4 separate regions of the Homo sapiens genome follow, and all the other regions are linked to region 1. The links are contacts of gene promoters, found by promoter capture Hi-C in blood cells and fetal thymus (Javierre and others, 2016). All regions are on one chromosome and are shown on one strand. The core of a region is centred on a gene start or on the middle of the fragment in contact, and the rest is flanking DNA. Distances in the headings are between cores, read along the strand shown. Region 1 holds the start of UPP1 (uridine phosphorylase 1). Region 2 overlaps IKZF1 (IKAROS family zinc finger 1). Region 3 has its middle 15 kb from the start of IKZF1. Region 4 overlaps SPMIP7 (sperm microtubule inner protein 7).

Evidence for each region. Contacts are between HindIII fragments. The CHiCAGO score rates a contact against its expected background, and 5 or more counts as called.
Region 2: a fragment that was not itself captured here is called in contact with the fragment with the promoter of UPP1 in region 1 in 2 of 17 cell types (total CD8 T cells and non-activated CD4 T cells); the score reaches 7.9 in total CD8 T cells.
Region 3: a fragment that was not itself captured here is called in contact with the fragment with the promoter of UPP1 in region 1 in 1 of 17 cell types (activated CD4 T cells); the score reaches 6.0 in activated CD4 T cells.
Region 4: a fragment that was not itself captured here is called in contact with the fragment with the promoter of UPP1 in region 1 in 1 of 17 cell types (non-activated CD4 T cells); the score reaches 5.6 in non-activated CD4 T cells.

The regions. Positions count from the first base shown.
Region 1 is chr7:48,087,403-48,090,940 of GRCh38, forward strand. It overlaps UPP1 (uridine phosphorylase 1), which reads left to right and starts at 1,863. Exons shown (of 9, transcript NM_003364.4): 1 at 1,863-2,016; 2 at 2,786-2,962. RefSeq lists enhancers at 866-1,395, 1,208-1,417, 1,928-2,457 and silencers at 1,558-1,897, 2,238-2,427. The HindIII fragment of the contact is 3,480 bases long and covers 1-3,342 here.
Region 2 is chr7:50,317,613-50,321,150 of GRCh38, forward strand. It overlaps IKZF1 (IKAROS family zinc finger 1), which reads left to right. Exons shown (of 8, transcript NM_006060.6): 2 at 1,436-1,489. The coding sequence starts at 1,450. Among named protein-coding and RNA genes, the nearest start is that of IKZF1, 15 kb to the left of the region's middle. RefSeq lists enhancers at 714-783, 794-843, 1,092-1,203. The HindIII fragment of the contact is 301 bases long and covers 1,532-1,832 here.
Region 3 is chr7:50,288,070-50,291,607 of GRCh38, forward strand. No RefSeq gene overlaps it. Among named protein-coding and RNA genes, the nearest start is that of IKZF1, 15 kb to the right of the region's middle. The HindIII fragment of the contact is 633 bases long and covers 1,370-2,002 here.
Region 4 is chr7:50,146,957-50,150,494 of GRCh38, forward strand. The region is part of intron 7 of SPMIP7 (sperm microtubule inner protein 7); the gene reads left to right. Among named protein-coding and RNA genes, the nearest start is that of SPMIP7, 53 kb to the left of the region's middle. The HindIII fragment of the contact is 168 bases long and covers 1,613-1,780 here.

The DNA.
Region 1 (3,538 bases), core at 613-3,112:
CTTCAGAGAGAGAGAATAGCAACTTCCTAACCAGGCCAGTTTCAGTCTTCAGTCTGAGGCAGCAAAATAGGGTCTGGAGGCAGGGAACATAAGGCCGATTCACACTTTAGCTATGACAGGAAATAGCCTCTGCGTAGGCCAAGTAAATGACTTTGTAACTTTGCATCATCCCTTTCATTTACATAGTGTGTGCCCCAAGCGGAGGACATTGAAACTCCCCAAAATTCTGGAATGGGGCCTTTGAGCCCCTACGCTCAGGCCCGCTCCCACACTGTGGAGTGTACTTTCATTTACCTTTTTTTTTTGAGATGGCGTCTCACTGTGTCACCAAGGCTGGAATGCAGTGGCATGATCTCAGCTCACTGCAACCTCTGCCACCCAGGTTCAAGTGGTTCTCCTGCCTCAGCCTCCCAAGTAGCTGGAATTACAGGCACCTGCCACTGTGACCGGCTAGGTTTTTTTTTTTGTTTTTTTTTTTTTTTTACTTTTAGTAGAGACGGGGTTTCACCATCTTGGTTAGGCTGGTCTTGAACTCCTGACTTTGTAATCCACCCGCCTCGGCCTCCCAAAGTGCTGGGATTACAGGTGTGAGCCACTGCGCCTGGCCGTACTTTCATTTTCAATAAAACCCTTAATTCCTTCCTTGATTTGTTTGTGTGTTTCACTCTTGTCACCCAGTATGGAGTGCAATGGCGCGATCTCGGCTCACTGCATCCTTCGCTGGGTTCAAGCAATTCTCCTGCCTCGGCCTGCCTAGTACCTGGGATTACAGGCACGCGACACCACGTCCAGCTAATTTTTTGTATTTTTAGTAGTGACGGGGTTTCACCATGTTGGGCAGGCTGGTCTCGAACTCCTGACCTCAGGTGATCCATCCGCCTCGGCCTTCCAAAGTGCTGGGATTACAGGCGTGAGCCACCACTCCCGGCCCAACCCCATGTTTTCTCAGGAACTGGAGTTCCCTTTAGGAAGCAAGTAACAGAGGTGCTGGGCTGCCCGGGCCTCTAGGTCGTCTTCTTTCCCAGGCTCTGTGCTCTCACCAGAGTGCGCGTTCGGGAAGCAGGGAGAGGACCAGGAAAGACGCCTGAGACGGAGAGTGGGCACCGGCCGGGGGCAGGCAGGTCCGGCCCCTGGGGGTCAGAGTGCAGCGCCGGTTTGAGGCAGTTCGGCCACTTAGCTGCGACTCGAAGTGAATGAGTCACTTCCCCTCCTCGGGCGAGCTCCTGGCTTTGCCCCAGCAAGCGGGAACTCCCAGGATCAGGAAGGTCCCAGAGAAACTCCCCAGGGGGGAAGCCGAGGCCGTCCAGAGAGATCCAGGGTACACACAGTGACAGTGCCAGCTCCACATTCCCGACCACCGGGCCAGGGCTGGTTCCACGCTGTCATTTCTCTCCGCTGGCCCCAGCCGCGGGGCCACCGCCAGACAGACAGACCGGGGATCCTGCCTGGCGGCGTGACCTTGGGTTAGTCCTAGAGCCGCTTCTAGCCCGGTTTCCTCCGCCCCAGGTTAGGACCACGTGGGTAAGAAGATTTCCTCTGTAGTAGGGGCTGTTTAATGAGTAACAGAACTGGCTGCTGGTTCTTTACAATTGCCCAGCTGCTCTGCAGAGGCGAGAAGCAATTGCGGGCTGAGCCTCCCGGGACCTTCGCGGGAGGGTGGAGAGGAGGAAGGCGGGGGAGGCGGGGCCAGAGGGGCAGAGGAAGGTGGGGGCGGGCGGGGCTTGTCTGCGGGATGGCCCAGGATGCGGTCAGCTGAGTTCGCCGGCCCAGGGCAGGCGGGGCCCGAGCCTAGCGGTAACCCCCGGGCAGGGCGGGGCCGCTCGCAGACTCCATATGAGATTCACCTCGCAGGTGGTTCCCTCATTCGAGTGCTCCGGCGCACAGACCCGCGCCCCGCCGTCTGCGAGCCTCCCGAGAGCCGTCCCTTCGTCCGGCCCTGGAGCATTGCGTTTGTCGCCGGTGTCGCAGTGCGAGGATGGCGCCGCGGGTGTAGCGGCTCTCTGCGCAGGCCGAGTGGTGAGTCGCCCGCGGCCCGGCTCCCGCCGTTCTCTCTTCCCAGGGGTCTAGCCCGTCCCCTGCCTTGGCCACGTGCCCATTTACCTGTAGGGGCGGTGACGGAGGCTCTGGTGCACCTTGGCTGTGAGCTGCAGAGGAGCAGAGAGCGGCCCGGCGCGGCTGCGCGGGGAGGCGGGCGCGCGGCCGGGAGGTTCTGGGGCTGGTGTGTGCGGAGCGAGGTGGGCGTGGGGGAAGCGCGCGGGCGGGATGTGCTTCCTCGGGTCCACCCCGTGCCTACCTCTCCCACGTCCCGGCGACGGAGCGCGCGGGGCTCTGGGCGGGGAGCCCACCGGGCCGAGGCGCAGCGAGGGTGAAGCCAGAGCCGGCAGGGTCAGGTCCCGCAGGGCGCAGGCGGGCGCTTCTCGCAGCCCAAACCCGGGCGGGGAGTGCGGGAACCCCTAGAACTATGCTGGGAGCCCCAGATAAGAGGAAGGAGATGGTGACTTAAGTGACGAAGTGATGTTTTGTCCCCACCGCCTTTTAAAGGGAGAAGGGGGTAAAATTTCATTTGGAGGATGATTGTTACGCGAGCTTTCAGAGTTCAGATGGCGTCAAGTGGCCATCGAGTCAACATTTAACAAAATGTTACCGCATAAAATATTGTCATCGAGTTATCTGGCAGCTCCGCAGAGAAACTTCACAGGCATATGCGTTATATGACATAATTTGCATGGGGAAGGGGGTCCCTTCACGATTCTTTTATATGGCAACCTGTTCTTGGACCTGGCAGGGCCCAGAGAAGCGAGGAACTCCGCAGCTCGTCGACACGTCTCGTCTCCTGTCCCAATTCAGGGCTTGGTGAGGTGACTCGCGGTCGCGGGTGACTCGCCGGCAGGACACTGCCTGGAACGCCTGGAGCGCCTCCCACTGCAGACGTCTGTCCGCCTCCAGCCGCTCTCCTCTGACGGTCAGTTTCAAAGAAACACAGTCTGGGATCCGGAGTAGAAAGAGGCCGTTTCCCGTGAAGGCCATAGAGGCAGTTTCCAGGCGCCTGGGTGACCTGTCTCTGCACTTCCCTCTCTGCTTCTCCATCCCTGTTTCCTTTCCCCACTGTCCCCTGCCTGGCCTTTCTTTGGCTCATTTTCTGCCTTCCTGGGGTCTTCTGGTTAAAAAGACCATTGGTTCCATTCATTGGCTGTAACCGCGGGTCTTTAAAAAACTTTGTGACTTCCTTGAATAGAAAGAATGTCTTACTCTGGATTTCTACAAGCGCTGCTGAGCCATTCCCAGGGCAGGCCTTTGTCTCTCCCGCCTTTCAGTTTGTTTGCCCATCTGCATTTTGGCCCAAGCTTTCCCCATTTCTCAGCTGCTCTTACATTATTTCTTTTTTCAGAGGCTACCCTGACCTTCTAGTCCTCTGCATTAAACCTCATCACCGCAGACCGTTTTAATTCAGCACAGGTGTATCGAGCACAAATTATATTCTTGGTTCCAATACTTTCAGCACTGGTGGGCATTCATGTTTCATTTAAGAAGGATAAAT
Region 2 (3,538 bases), core at 432-2,931, 2.2 Mb after region 1:
ACACACCTACCTTGAAAATTCATGTCACTTTTAGAAATAGATAAAAGCCCCTCCCATCCAGAAAAAGTGACTATCATGTATATCCTCATCATGACTAATACTGATATTCCTGAAATTGAAAATACATATTCCATATGTACCATAAAAGGTATTAAAGATATATGGAGTGATAGATATATTATATATAACACTTCTACCCTCACAGTTTTCAGCCTAATTGAGAGGGTAAGATCCCTGAATCATCCATCAGTTTTTCAGGTCTCTGCTGAAAGCAGGCCACAGCTCAGATCCACACATCTGAACCAGAGACAGAGGTGGCCAAAAATAAAAAGGGGGACAGGGGGACAACCTGGTTTAGAGTCAACAAATAGACTGCATTTTCTGGTTAGTGAAGGAGCTCTCCTGAAAGTCATATACCAGAGCATAAATGAGCAGATTTCCTTGAGGTCACCTTCTGCTGGCCATAGCTTTCTTATCTGTGGAGCTGCCAGCTGTCATCCACTTTGGGGCACCTGAGACTGCCGAGCGGCAGGCCAGGACCCAAGTGCGAAAACACAGAACACCTTTTTGTTTCTACTCCACTGATGCTGGGGTTCTCTCCCTGGTGTTTGTGGCTCGTAGTACACTCTGTGGAACATTCACTATGGTCATCGAAGGGCAGCATCTTCCCAGTTGTTTCTTTCTTTTCTTTTTTTTTTTTAATTTAAACCGATCTGAGAAGCCAGCCATCTGTCAGCAAAACAGGAAGGCTCGGGCTGTCTCCTGGGCTCGTTTTGCTGCCGTAGTGAGCGTCACTTCTCCCCGTGTAAGAGTGCTGGTGAAGGCTGAGGCAAGGGCCCAGAAAGATTGAGGGACAAAGACAGGAGCGCCCGCATTGCCCATCTGCCAGGCTGGAGGTGTATTCATTATTGATGGAGGTAGTGCAGTTGCTGCTCAGATATGCAGCCCTGCCTGGGTAAATGAGACATTCTTCAGCAAATTGCTTCGTTTTTTGATTGCTGATTGTACGCGTGTCACCAAGCTGACTCAAGGTTCATCGATGCATGCTCAGTAAATTAGAAAGAACATAACTATGGATCAGCCAAGAGAATGAATTCTGTGCCTACAATGACCCAGGGCCATTTAATTTTCTGCTTAATTTTGTTGCAGTCAGTTTGCATTTTGGGTTATTATGCAGTAGGAAATTAACAATAAATAACAAATTTGGTCCTCCTGTGCTTGTAATGATATTTTTATAAATCTTTGTAATGCTGTTTTTAAAAGGATCAAGGTCTGTGCCAGTCTGATACTCCAGCAAGTATGTGAGGAGGAAAATGCATTATTCTTGCTAGATAACCTTGTTGTTAAATAGCATAGGGGTTCTTTATCTCTCTCTCTTTCTCATATCTTATTAGTATTTTTGCTTTAAACTAAAATCCCTTCCTCTCTTTCTCAGATAACCTGAGGACCATGGATGCTGATGAGGGTCAAGACATGTCCCAAGTTTCAGGTGAGACCTTATGAGATAGCTGTGTGGGAAGTTCATGAGAAAAGCTTCCCTGGGGCCGGAAGTCACAGTGCTTGGTATGCTCATGGGGGAGGAATAGGGGCTATTCTGCAAAAGAAAAGACCATGATGGAATTTGCCTGAGTGTTTCCTTCACCTGTTACAAATTATCTCACTTTGAGCTGAACAGAAAGCCTCCAAGATGAAATTAGTTTTACTGTTAAACTTCAGGAAAAAAAAACGGGAAGAGTTAAATACATTTTTGTACTGTTGGAAGGAAAAATGGCTGATTGGTTTAAAACCCAAACACATGCCAATGATGGTACTTAAAGAGAGAGAGAGAGAGAAGCTTGAAAAACATAATTGTTGGGCACAGTCATGACTGTTTGTTCATTAAGCATGGACACAACATTGCTCCCCTTTGCCATATATCTTTTCAAGCCGTATTGGATATAGCTCTTCTCATCCAGGAGACCCAGGAAGTGGAGAAGTCTGTAGTAGGAAAAGCCTAAGGGTAGGTCACAGACTGTGACCATTTGGCAGCACTGAGGGTGGACGGCGAGCCAGTCCAACAAAACCGCACAGTTCCCCAGTGCATGGACATAGGAAGACAGCTTTCTATCTGGCCCTGTATCCAGAGGCGTCAGCCCCAGTAGCAGCTTTCATGGACTTTGGGGTTTTCGGTATTTCATATTTTTGAGCCTCACAGACTCACAGCCAGCCCCAGAGGCTGACTTATATTTGAGAAAGTTCTCAGTGGCACCTTGCCTTGGCTGAGCGCCCTCGTGTTTTGAAGTTTCTATGGGATTCTACAAGTTGGTGCTCCTGATGAAGACCAGGACCTATGTGTGGCTGCTCCCCTGCTTGGTGGTTTCCCTGGGGAAGGTGCAGGAGAGGATCTTCTGAGTTCCATGGAACTGGAGATAGATCTGCCAATCACAGGCTTCCTTCTCCACCACTCCTCAGCCGCTCTATTCATGTTTCAGATTTTGGACTTAAACTCTCCCAGGTGCAAAGAACAAACAAAAGGCTAGCTTATTTTTCTTTTAGAGTGAGGCTTCGTATTTATTACAATATAATTGCCACATTCTTTGTGTAATTCTCACATTTATATCTTAAATATAATTCTCATGAATGAGAATTATATAATTCTCTTTTTGTATATCATTGAATATTTTCACTTAATTTTTAATTTTTTTAATCGTCACAAAATAATTGTGTACATAGACACAAAATAATTGGGTACATAGTGATGTTGTGATATATACAATGTATAGTAATCGGATCAGGTAAATCAGCATATTCATCATCTCAAACATTTATCGTTTCTTTGTATTAGGAACATTCGACATCTTCCTTCTAGCTATTTGAAACTATATATTATTGTTGACTACAGTCATCCTGCAATGGTGTAGAACACTAGAACTTATTCTTCCTACCTAGCTGTAATTTTGTCTCCTTTAACAAATCTCTCCCTATCTTCCACTCCCCCGACCTTTCCAGCCTCTATTAGCCTCTGTCCTACTTTCTACTTATAATGATGACAGCAGCATTTGTTAGTTTCCACATGTGAGTGAGAACATGTGGCTTTTTAACTTTTAGAATGTGGTATTCAGGCACTTCATGGTACAGTTGGTAAAAGTGAAAATGTGTCCAAAAGTTTGTGATTATCTATATAAACAAAAATGGTATAAATACAAATATCAATTTTGCATTGAAGAACTTACCTTAGAGGTATATTCTCACAAGTGCACAGAGCATTTAAGCATTTGTTCACTGCAGCATTGTTATCAGTATTTTAAAACTATGGTACATCCATGTACTTCCACATACAGCTCTTAAAAATAAGGAGGATATGAATGAACTAGTATGAAAAGAAGTCCAAATACATGTGAAAGTGAGAATAGCATGGTTCTGGATGGTATGCAAAGTATGATCTCGTTCTTTTAAAAGAAAATAAATTACATACACATACATATTTTCTATATGCTTGCCCATAACGTTTAGGAAAATTCTTGGGTGATATTTATTAACCTGGACTTCCTCTTGGAAG
Region 3 (3,538 bases), core at 436-2,935, 2.2 Mb after region 1:
CATAAAATATCTGCACTTTCCTAATTTTACCCTAAAGCTCCATTTTCACTAAACAGATTAAGCACATGCATTTTTTTAACAACAACAAATCTGAAAACAGACATTTTAATTTGAAATATTTTGGGGAAAATATTTAAGGAAATAGTCGTAGATTATAAAACATACTGAGGTTACTCTTATCAAAACATTTGACTACTTCAAAATGCAGTTAAAATGACATTAAAATATGACACGGAAAGCACACTCAACAAAATAAAAAAAAAAGATAAACTGAACTTCATCAAAATTAAAACCTGTAGTGCATTGATGCCACTATCAAGAGAGTGAAAAGACAGCCCACAGAATTGGAGAAAGCTTTTGCAAACCACATATCTGATATGATTCTCTATACTAGAATGTATAAAGCCAAGTACATATTCAGAAGATATAAAATATCCAGAATATATTAAAGAACACTTACAACTCAACAACAAAATGACAATCCAATTTAAAAATGGGCAAAAGACTTGCCTATCATTTCTCCCAAGATATACAAGTGGCCAATAAGCACATTAAAAGATCCTCCATGACATTAGTTATTAGGAAAATGCAAATTAAAACCACTTTACAGTCACTAGAATGGTTATAATTCAAAAAAAAAAAGAAAATAATGGGTGTTGGTAAGGATGTGGAGAAATCAGAATATTCATATATTGCTGGAAGGAATTAAAATGAATTACAATGTGGTCCTGCAATTCCACTCCTAGGTATATACCCAAAAGAATTCAAAACAGGTGTTTGAGCAAAAACTTGTACATGAATGTTTATAACAGCTCTGTTCACAGTAGCCAAAAGGTAGAACCAACCTAAATATTCATCAACAGACGAATGGGTAAACCAAATGTGATATATTCATATAGCGGAAATTGCTCCACTATAAAACAGAATGGAATACTGATACATGCTACAATATAGGTTAATTTCAAAAACTTATACTAAATAAAGGAAGCCACAGACAAAAGGCCAAAAAGTATATGCCCCCATTTGTATAAAATATCCAGAACAGGCAAATTAATAGAGACAGAAAACAGACTAGTTGCTGCCAGGGGCTGAGGGCAGCAGAAAATGGGAGTGACTGCTTAATGGGCATTGGAATGAACAAGTTCTGGAAATAGTGGTGATGGTTGCACAACATTGTGAATGTACTTAATGCCACTGAATTGTATACTTTAAAAAGGTTATGACGGTAAGCTTTATGTTATGTGTATTTTACCACAATAAAAGAGACAATAAATGCTTCAAAGGCATGATTTAAATTAGTTTTACTAGTTCATTTTATTTCAGAAATCGGTGTTTACATTGTCTAAAGGTAGAATTAATCCATGTTTTAAGCTTTTGTTCTATACGGGGCAGAGAGAATGTTGTAATGTTTCTCACCTTCACCCTGTGTTCTTGGAGAGTATTTAATTTGGCTTATTGGCTGCAAATGTACATTATTTTTCTTTTTCAACTTAATTTGACCTCCACAGTTATGTGTTATAGCTTGGGGTTCAAGATATAGGATAGTTTCATCATAAATGCTTTTGGAATCATATTTATGAGTTTTTCTAAACTTTGTATAAGTCTGACTTGTAGTTACTGTTTTACAGTAAGCCCAGTCTTTCAATTTCCCAGTAAAGTTAATGGCTATTAAAATTGCATCTAACATTTTTGGACTCAGTTATCTCTTAGATTTAATTCAATTTTCTAAACAGCCTTTGCTTATTATGTATTTTCCTTTCCCTTCAAAAATGAATCAATTATTAGTTTCCAACATAATTTTGACCAAATTTAAGTTCTTATTAACACTTTTTTAATTCTATGAAGCAAGTCAAGTGAGTTATCTCAACTACATTTTCATAATGTACGTAGGCTTATTGATAATATTAAGTATTACTGCAATGATTAATGTTATATGTCATCTCTCTCTCTCTCTCTCTCTCCCCACAATCCCCCCATCCCCTGCCCTGCCCACTGGTGCTTAAGCTTGGACATCCATCCTCTCCTGCCCTCGGATATTGACGTGCTCCTGGTTCTCAGGCCTTCAGGCTTGGAATAGAATCTACACCACCAGGTTTTCTCAGCCCCCAGCATGCAGATGGCAGATCATAGGACTTCTCAGTCTCCATAATCATGTGAACAAATTACCTCATAATAAATCTCTATAGATCTATGTCAGTATCCACACCTATATGTATTCTATTGGTTCTGTTCTCTGGAGACCTGTTGATACAGTTTGGCTGTGCCCGCCCCCCTGCCCCGCCCTGCCCAAATCTCATCTTGAATTGCAGTTCCCATAATCCCCACATGTTGTGAGAGGGACCCGGCGGGAGATAATTTAATTATGGGGGTGATTACCCTCATGTTGTTCTCATGATAGTGAGTGAGTTCTTACAATATCTGATGGTTTGGCTTTTCCCCGTTTGCTCATTCTTCTCTCTCCTGCTGCTATGTGAAATCGGACTTGTTTGCTTCCCCTTCTGCCATGATTGTAAGTTTCCTGAGGCCTCCCCAGCCATGCTGAATTGTGAGTGAAATAAACCTCTTTCCTTTATAAATTACCCAGTCTTGGTTATATCTTTATTAGCAGCATGAGAACTGACTAATACACCTATAATACAATTAGTAATAAGTGATAATGTAGCTCAGTCAGGGAATATAGAAAATTATTAAGAAGAAAATATAAATCACTCAAGAACCTCTTACCTGCTGGCAACGTTAATAGTTTAGTGAATAGCCTTCAGGTCTATGTATGAGAGATATGTAAAATGCTTAAAACAATCCTGCAATTTTCATTTTCAGTCTACTATGCATAGTGGATATCTTTTCATCTTAGAAAATAGACATAAGTCATCTACTGATAGCTCCAAAATATTCATTTGTGGGAATATATCAAATACTATTTCATTTGGGATGAGCATTCAGTTTTCAATTCTTCCTTCTATGAACCTCATTCTAGTGAATGTTAAACACACATATGTTAAATGTTAAATACATGTATTTTCATATACAATTAGTTATCTGTGCATGTATTTCTTGAGGTTATGAAGTAAAAGGCCTCACGCCTTCTATAGTTTGAATTCTATTGATATTGATATGCAATGCTGACTTCCCTCTGATCTGTCCTAGGAATCCCACCACCAGACCCCAATCTCCATGACCTAAAGACAATCTTTTCATTGTAAATTTACAAATTACAGTTGTATATATTTATGGGGTACAAAGTGAGATTATGATTTAATAAATTTATTTAAAAGTTTATGATTTATAAATATAAAATGATTTATAAATATGATTTAGAAAAATTAAATCAAGCTAATTAACATATCTATTACCTCAAATACTTTTCATTTTTTTGTGGTGACAATGTTTACTCTTAGTGATTCTGAAAAGGTACAATACACTATCACTAATTATATTCACCACACTGTACAATAGATCTCAGAAAACACCCTTATTTCTCTTGTCTAATTGAGGCTTCATCTAACAGTTTATTTCAATTTTTAGTTTTTAACTTCTA
Region 4 (3,538 bases), core at 447-2,946, 2.1 Mb after region 1:
GGTGAGGATGCCTGAGAAAACTTCAGTTGAGGTCTAAGTTCACACAGCTGGTCAGGGCAGCCCTGGAATTAAATGTGTCTGTCTCACACCCCCCTCCCTTATGTCGCATCCATGGTCTTTGTTCACTTGGGATCTTTAAACATTTAAATGTGCATTTTTTAAATTAAAAGTATTAGTGTGAAAGCTGTTGGGAGCTAAGTCAGCTTGATGTCTGCCTAGAACTGTAGCTGATATAGAATGGCTCTAAATAAAAGACTATCACATTGATTTGAACCTGCACTTACACCCCACCCTGTATAATTGCAGCCCACTGTGAGCTAATGAGGCTCTCCTGGCTGGGCTGGGAGTAATGCCAATGGTCCTTCCTATTCAGTTCAGTTGCACTGAGGTCCAGTTCTACCACTTGCCAGCTTGGTTGGTGCTGGCCATGATACTTAGACTTTCTCTGTGTCAGTTTCTCCATCTATAAAATGGACATGATCATAGGACCTATGACACAAGATTGTTGTGAGAATTAAACAGTCAATTTACATCAAGCATTTAAAAGGGTGCCTGGAATATAGAACATACTCAATGACTATTAGTCATGTTTACAGTGTAGAGTGAGAATTTCTATGCATGCCTAAATTTTATGCACATATACAATACATATATTCTACGTATAACATGGTTTTCTCCACATTTTTCCTCTCATATTTAACTTATATACCATCTGTGCTCCCTTCTTCTGAGTTACTAAACTTCTTGATTTTCTTAAATTACTTAATTTCTATTTTATCATGTTTGGTTGAGAACCAATTCATTGTAGACTTGGGCAATAATATATTCAAATTTATCAATTAGTGAACAAAATCCTGGCTTATTTGGAACTAGGGAGTACAAAATAAGGTATTTAAAGGACTAGAAGCTGTGGAGCAAAGGCAAAAATGAAGACTTCTTATTTTTAAGTGGGTCTCTGCGTCTCTCTACTTTCCTCAAATGGGGAGTGGAATTCTTTGAACATGCGACTAACCTGGAAATCCATTTCCCGGCTTGTATGTTTCAGTATCTTTAATAGCTTTGTTCCCTCCAGCTGAAAAATAATATCTCCTATCAGCAGCAGTCTAAAGTGTTCCCCAGAGAGTATTCTCCTCTTAATATAAGGTCGCTGTGTTGCACTTAAGATGGCAAAATTCCCCTTGTTATGGCCATATGTGCCAGGGTTAAATGGAGTAGATTTAGAAGCAGTGTGGGTGAGGACTTTCGTTTTCAAATATTTGGCAATTTATTATGCAACTGAATTCATTCCCAAGACTGAGCAGCTAATCAGTCTAATCTTCCATGAAATGTTATTATTAAATATGATGTAATCTAATAGCATTAAGACAATGTAACATATGATACCATTTAGCATCAATAACATGCATGCCACAGAGGCACAGAGGCTGTGCAATGTTTTTTATCAAGCCTTTCATGTGATTGACAGATGGCCTGCGTCCATCCCTCTGACTTCTTAACTGCTCTGATGGCAGGATATGACTTTAGAGGCATTTTAATTCTGCAGGTGTTTTCAAAGGCAGTGGAAAAAACCTTTCACACAGATGGAGGGGATTTCCTTTGTAACATGCATGGAAGCTTTAATGAATGGTTGGGGGAGAGACACACGCATGAATAACTTTGCCTCATTCTGGGTTACCTCTCTAACTTACAGCTGCACTTTTCCAACAAAATTCCAAAAAATCCTGCAGGGCACTGCCTAGAATTCAGCAGCTTCAGTTCACTCACCTAGGTCCCTCCAGCAAGCTTGACAATGTGGCTGTAAAACAGAGGCTCCTGAACTTAGCAGCACAGGAGAATCATCTGGAGAGCTGTCAAAAGTCCCAGTGCTCAGGCTACACCACTTACTAGTTACATTAAAATATGGGGCTGGGCCGGGCACGGTGGCTCACGTCTGTAATCCCAGCACTTTGGGAGGCCGAGGCGGGTGGATCACAAGGTCAGGAGTTCAAGACCAGCCTGACCAACAGGGTGAAACCCCGACTCTACTAAAAATACAAAAGTTAGCTGGGCATGGTGGTGCACACCTGTAATAGCAGCTACTCAGGAGGCTGAGGCAGGAGAACCACTTGAACCCAGGAGGTGGAAGTTGCAGTGAGCCGAGATTGTGCCACTGTACTCCAGCCTGGGCAATACAGCGAGATTCCATCTAAAAAAAAAAAAAATGTGGGAGTGGGAGCCAGGCATTGGTACCTTTCAAGATGCCTCTGAGATGTCAGTGTGCAGCACCATTGGGAACCTCTGTCTTAGCATCTTTTCAGCTGTCTGTACTGGATAAACTTTGCAATCCCCATGTGCATGGCCCTTATTTTGTAAATGTTTTATTTCTTTAAATTACTGTATTTCAACTGAAATTAGTTTAGCATCTATTAAGTGCTAACAATTTGCTAGCTGTTTTCATATTCATTGAAGTCTCCTCTAATCCCCAGAGTGCCCCTAAGAGGTTAGTGTTGTCCTCTTCATGCTGCAGTTGACCGAGCTGAAGCCCAGAGAGCTTTCTTCACTGGAGTAAAACCTCACAGTTGGTTAAGGGGCAGAGTCAGGCTTGCCACAGAAGCCTGCTTCTCGATGCAGTGGGCTGCCCCCACTCTTTAGCTGCCTTATTTTCCTAGTCTCACAAAATCTGTTATTTTGTACTGTTTATTCTGCTGTTGCCATAGATGTAATTTCCCTTCACTTTGTTAGTCTCTGGGTGTCCTTGATTATATCACCTGCAAGCCAATAAGTCATCACCAACAGAGTCATAAATTACACAGCTGGAAGAGAATTAGGAGATTTATTAGTGCAATTCCCTGCCTGATATGTATTTTCCCCCTAACATTCTGATACTTGCACATAATCAATGTGGGAAGGACACCAAGAAATTGCAGTGTGAATCCTTCTCGTTTCCACTTCTCCCTCACCCAAGTCCTTCCGGTTGGTATCACTACCCGGGGTCAGGCTGAGGCTAGAAGGCTCCAAAAGACTATGTCCAGTCCAGATCCCAGAGATGACATGGGGAACCGGGGACTGAATCTTCCTCCCAACCCTTAAGCACACACCCCTTTCACTAACCTCTCTTCTGCCTGCCTTGTCACCTGATACTTTCAGGAGCAACTCCTATAAGCTCCAAATTTTGAAAATTACTCCTAAGATAAGTGGTTCCTGGAGAAGGCTTTGTGTGGCTTACTGGTCGTGTGGGAAGGTCATGGATATAACCAAGGCAGCCATTGAAGAACCATTCCTCCACCACCCACAGAGGTTTGCTTGTTGCTACTGTGTTGCATTTTGTCTGGGCACCAATTTTGAATAGGGAACCATGCCACAAGGATGTCCTGCTCTCAGAGAAAGGTCCAAGGATGGCAAGTGAAAGCCACTGAGATGAATGAAATTTGCAATCTGCCCACTGGCCCTTTCCTCCCTGGGGGCAAGTTCATGATGGTGGCCTTTCTTATTCCTCCCTGAGGCCAGCACAGTAAGCTGAGGCCATGGCGTTGATACGACTCTGCAAAGATGGTAGGCT